2 separate regions of the Homo sapiens genome follow, and region 1 is linked to region 2. Evidence: promoter capture Hi-C in 16 types of primary human blood cells and fetal thymus (Javierre and others, 2016). All regions are on one chromosome and are shown on one strand. Each heading gives the region's core, a stretch centred on a gene start or on the middle of the fragment in contact. The rest is flanking DNA. Distances are from core to core; before and after follow the strand shown.

What was found. Contacts are between HindIII fragments. The CHiCAGO score rates a contact against its expected background, and 5 or more counts as called.
Region 1: the fragment with the promoter of NAA20 here is called in contact with the fragment with the promoter of ZNF133 in region 2 in 6 of 17 cell types (naive CD4 T cells, total CD8 T cells, non-activated CD4 T cells and 3 more); the score reaches 11.1 in naive CD4 T cells.

What each region holds. Positions count from the first base shown.
Region 1 is chr20:20,015,915-20,018,614 of GRCh38, reverse strand. NAA20 (N-alpha-acetyltransferase 20, NatB catalytic subunit) reads right to left here and starts at 1,253. Exons shown (of 6, transcript NM_016100.5): 1 at 1,166-1,253. The coding sequence starts at 1,218. RefSeq lists enhancers at 452-952, 1,567-1,746 and silencers at 1,007-1,126, 1,177-1,246. The HindIII fragment of the contact is 8,583 bases long and covers 1-2,700 here.
Region 2 is chr20:18,287,190-18,289,936 of GRCh38, reverse strand. ZNF133 (zinc finger protein 133) reads right to left here and starts at 1,410. Exons shown (of 7, transcript NM_001352452.2): 1 at 1,333-1,410. RefSeq lists enhancers at 678-797, 1,358-1,697, 803-1,708, 1,788-1,837. The HindIII fragment of the contact is 851 bases long and covers 957-1,807 here.

The DNA.
Region 1 (2,700 bases), core at 4-2,503, 1.7 Mb before region 2:
ACTAGATTCGCACTGATCCCAGTTGTCTGACCGCACTTCAAGTTTCCCCATTTTCATGCCCCGCTCCTTCTCCGGAACTTCCGTCTTCCTCACTTACCAATGTGTTATCCATCTTCAAGGCTCACCCCCTCTTTGAAATGTTCCCAGCCATCTTATCCCATAGTTCTTTCCATCTTCCTGACACTTGAATCGGAACCACTTTGTCCTTAGTTTTCACATACCGCCCTGTTGTTTTTTTAAAGTGGATCCAGGACTGATAGATGGGAAGGAAGGAGAGATACCAGCGTAGCAAAATGTTAACTGCAGAATCCAGGAAAAGTGTCTATAAAAGCACATGGTGAAATTCCTCCAACTTTTCTAAATGTGTGGGAATCTTCATAATAAAATGTTTTCTTAAAAAAAAAAAATTGGTACCTGCAAATCAGAGGTCTGGCCTTAACTCGAATCCAAAGAAACTGCATCCAGGGCTCTGGGCACAGCGAGCCTCCCCTAAGATCTGCCGTGACTCCTCACAGAGGAAAGGTGTGTACACCGGGGTGCGCAGCTACAGTAACTAAACTTGCAAACACTAACCATGACTGAGACAGCATCTGCTGCAGGGGACGCAGTGATCAGTGTCATTTCATTTGGATACAATTTAACCACGGCCACCAGGTGGGCTTCACGATGTACACATCCCAACAGCTGCTGACCAGCTTCCGATCCTCGCAAGCCCCCTCTGCGGCCTGGCCGTCGGCGGTGCCCTCTGCCCAGAAGAGGCGCGGCCCGGCCACGAACCAGCAAGCAGTAGGGCAGGGCGAGAAGCCCAGGTCGTGGGCTCCAGGCCGCGTCTCCAGCTCGCCCCATCACCCCAGCGCCTCCTGACAGCGACCACGAGCGGAGGCCCGAGCGCTGCCCCAGAACCTGCCAGCTCGCAGGGTCCAGAGACAAAGTTTGAGCACCTCGGCCAAGGTCGCCAAGGCCGGCGTGCGTCGACTCCAGGCCCACCTCTCCCTGGACCCTGTGGCCCCAGGGAGGCGCCCACGTTGGCCGGCGGGGGGTGGTTCTCGCGGGTCCCCGTCCGGGCTTGGGGTCCGGCCGGGAAGGCGCGGCTGGGGCCGGAGCTGGCGGGGCCGGGAAGCGAGGCCCGGCCAAGAGCGGCTGGCCCTAGGCGCGTGTCACTCACATGTTGTTGAAGCGGAACAGGTCGTCGCAGGTAAAGGCCCGTAGCGTGGTCATCGCGCCGCCGCCGCTTCCGAAGACCGTTCGCCAAGACCCCGCGCCCGCCCTGCCGGAAGTCTCCCGGAGCGTGGCCGCCGCGGAACCGAGCGAGACGGGGTACTGCTTCCGGGCTACGAGTTGCTGGGCAACGACAGCAGCAAAGCAGCTTCCTCTGGCGGCCGGCGGCGGGAATTGCCAGGTCGCTCCTGTAAGGCCTCCGGGGCTGTGGCTGCCCAGAACCTCGGAACCCCTCCCAGGCAGCGGCTGCAGAAAGCAGGCGGCGACACCTGGGAAGGAAAGAAGCTGCTGGTGATGCGGAAACCCAAGCAGAAGAGCGGAGTTCGCAGCCACCCGGTGCTGCAGAGTAAATGAGGAATGGGAGAATTTATGACCCAGAATCCCTTGTCCCAGTGTTGCGAGTTGCAGATGTCATCTTAAAATGTCAATACCACGTTTAAAAACAAAAAGAAGGCCGGGCGCGGTGGCTCACGCCTGTAATCCCAACACTGGGAGGCCAAGGCGGGCAGATCACTTGAGTTCAGCAGTTCGAGACCAACCTGGCCAACATGGCGAAACCCCCTCTCTACTAAAAAAAAAAAAAAAAGGAAAGAAATAAAAATTAGCTGGGCGTGGTGGCACGCGCCTCTAATCCCAGCTACTTGGAGGCTGAGGCAGGAGAATCGCTTGAACCCAGGAGGCGGAGGTTGCAGTGAGCCGAGATCTCGCCACTGCACTCCAGCCTGGGCGACAGAGCTAGACTTGGTCTCAAAAATAAATAATAAATAAATAAAAGCAAAACGAAATGTAAAATTGATTTTGATAGTACGCTTTATTTTACCCATTTATTTTTCCTATTTGGGAAAAATATTTTTCCCTGACCCCACTTTATTATACCCGAAATATCATTTCAACATGTAACCAATCAATACTCAACATGTAATCAATCAATAAAAAAAGGAATGTGATATGTTACATTCTTTTTTGCAAAGACTTTGAAATCCGGTGTGTATTTTACATTTGCAGTGCATTTCAATCTGAGAGAGCAGCTGTCATCGGAAATGCTTGTTCTCTATTTAGATTTCATCAATGTATGGTTAAAAAGCAGATTCTCATATCCAAGCGGTTCCAAATATACTGTTTTCAAATCGCTGAACCAAACATCAGTTTTTAAATTTAAAGTAGTTAAAATTAAAAGTTAAAAATTCCTTTATTCAGACCAGACACAGTGGCTCACACCTGTAATCCCAGCTACTTGGGAGGCTGAGGTGGGAGGATCATTTGAGCCCGGGAGGTAGAGGTTGCTCTGAGACATGATTGCACCACTGCACTCCAGCCTGGGTGACACACCAAGACCCTGTCTCAAAAAGATAAGATAAAGAGAGATAAAATACATAAAGCAAGCAGGAATGCTGAAATGTATTTACACATGAGTGTTAAACTGGTCAATATCCACAGAGCTGTAATCACTGTCTCTCCTGGGCACTGTATAACACTATGCAT
Region 2 (2,747 bases), core at 161-2,660:
GCAGTACCTCCTATTCCTTAACAGCATCAGGAATGAACCTGCCACAGAAGAAAAGGAGAAAAGAACTGCGGGCAGCTTCCTGGGAACACAGCTGGGGTACAGGTTGAAAGCACGACCTGCCCTGATATGCTGTTGACGCTGAGCATGAAGCGACCTTCTCTGTGCCTGTTATTAATGAAAGGTAATATTCACTGAACACTTAGTATACACCAGAGACTGTTACAGCCACTGTAGGAGTTTCACCTCATTCTATCCTTTCAACAACCCAATACGATAGATGCTATTATCCTCTTTAGGATAAAATCGAGGAAACTGAGGTACAGTGAAGTCAGCATCTTGCCCAAGGTGACACAGCTATAAAGTGACAGAGCCTAGAGGAAATGTGGCTGTGGAGACCGTGCTCTTACACAGTAAGGGCAGTGACGGTGAACTCTGGATTGCAAGGATTCTCTGTGTCCATTCTGAGATGAATCAAGATTGGTCATAAGGTTTTAAGTGTTGAATCTGGGTGATGGAGATCTGGTCTATAGAGTTCTATCTACTTCTGGCTGTTTGAAATTTCTCCGCAATAAAAACTTAAATGGAATGTAAAATCCCAAAGCCTGGCCACACCAGGGGCCTGGGAATCCGTAATTCTTGCGATCAATGACGGTCCCTGGGACCTTTGGAAAAAACCTGTCCTGTGCGTCCCAGCCAGACTTCCTCCTCCAACGCCCGAACCCGGGGGTGACCAACCAAAGTGAAACCCTAAGATCGCGGCAAAATGGCCACCCCAGATCCAGTCTAACCTTGGCTTGTTTGGTCAAGCCAGACCGCTCCTCATTCCACTCCAGCAAAGCCGAAGAATAGTGTGGCCCCAAGAGACTAGCCCTCAACCGACCAATGCCTCGGGGACACATGGCCCCAGGGATGGTTCCCATTCCACCACCTGGGAAATACCATTCCCCCAAAAAGCTTATTTATTCAACTCCCCCAAAACCGGGGACTTATGGCATCAGCGACTCCCTTTCCCAATACCCGACTTCAGCCAAAGCCGAACCTGTCCCCACCCACAAGAACCCTAGGAGAGAGAGCCCGATCCCCCACTCATCACCATCCAGTTTCACGGATGGGCTTCACCCAACTCCCCTGGAGATGCACGCCCACACCCCCAAAATAAGACATCTGGGAGAGGACGGCCTGCGCCACGCCAGCGCGTTCCCACCACAATCACCACCCCCGCGCCACCCGCACGGTCCCCAAATTCAGCCCATAGTCCAGCCTTTCGGGACCTTCCTTTTCGCGCAGAAAAGGGTACGGCTGCGGCAAGGGTCCCGCGGGAGCCTCACTCACCAGCGCCACCAAAGAACAAGGGGTCGCTCCAGCCACCAGCTGGGGAGCTCCTCCAGCGGGGCGCCAGGACTACACTACCCCGAATCCTCGGCACAGCGCCCGGACCACACCTCCCAGGATGCTCGGCGCCACCAGGCGCGCCCTGAAGGCCGGCAGCTCCCATTGGCCTCTGACGGATCCGTTTCTGAGTAACACGCTCCGGTCACCGGAGAATGGCCACTGTGGCACCTGAATTCTCCCTCTTTTTTCTTAACCACGTGCATAAAACACGTAGGAGCTCCCGAGAAGAGTGCCTGGCCCTACTGTGACCCTCCTTCTGAGCGCCTCTGTCTCGAAAACTACACTTCCCAGTGACCCCTGGAGCGACTTCCGCACCCGGTACCGGCCCCGCCCCTTGGCGCGCGGAAATGACGTTTCGGGGCGCATCTGTTCGGCTTCTGGGGTTGGCGGAGGTGTACCGCTGGCTGACCAAGCTTGTTCAGGTGCTGGTTTGTGTTGCAGCGGCCTGTGGTCTCCCTGGCTCCAGCCGCCTGCTTGGAAAGTCACGCCCCATATTCCTAAACACCGGGCGAACGTCATGTCGTATACCCTTTAGCTCCATTTAAAGCCTTGAAAAGGCCGAGCAGTCTGCCTGAAGTCTCACATCCCGTACGAGGTAGACCCGATTCTGAGCCCACGCCCTCAACCCGAATACACCTTTTCCGGTGCCCTGAGACCTTTTTCTTCTTTTTGAAATCCACGAAGTTATTGTTAAACTCTCATCTCCTGAGAAGCAGAAGCCTCAGTCTCGGGCCAGAGCTTGGCCTGCCGTCGGCTTGGATCTCTAGGTCTTTGTCCGGGATCCTGGTTGAGAACAAGATTGCGCTGGTGCCATCTGGGACGCCCCATCTGGGGAGCTCGAGGGGAAGGCCCACGTCACTCTTGAGAGGGCTTTTCCACCCGTGCACCCTCTCACTGCCCTTCACCTTCCTCAGATAGGCTTTCTGAAACTTTGTCATTCTCTTGGAAGACCAAGAAAATGACCACTGTCTGAAGGGCCAGGGAGATGAGAATTTCCTAAAATTCTTTTGTAGCTCTCAGAGGGTGAATCCATTCCCTTCTGGTACCCCGAGGCTACATTATTTATTGTGAATTCAGTTCAGTCCTGGCTCCGGAGACATGTCCAGTGTCAATTGGATTCATCCCTCAACATCATTCTCTGCCTCATGAGTCAGTCATCACCAAGAAATTAGTTGTTAATACACATAAAGGTTCAGAACAACAATGCAGGGATGCCTGTGTTCAAGTGTTCACTTGTGCTGGCTGTACAATAAAGACACAGATGGCTGACATCTCTTAAGCCTGGAAATGAAGACTTACAGGATGAGGTGCTGCCTGAGGAATTAGGCAAGATGAGGAGTTGGAAGAACACAGAC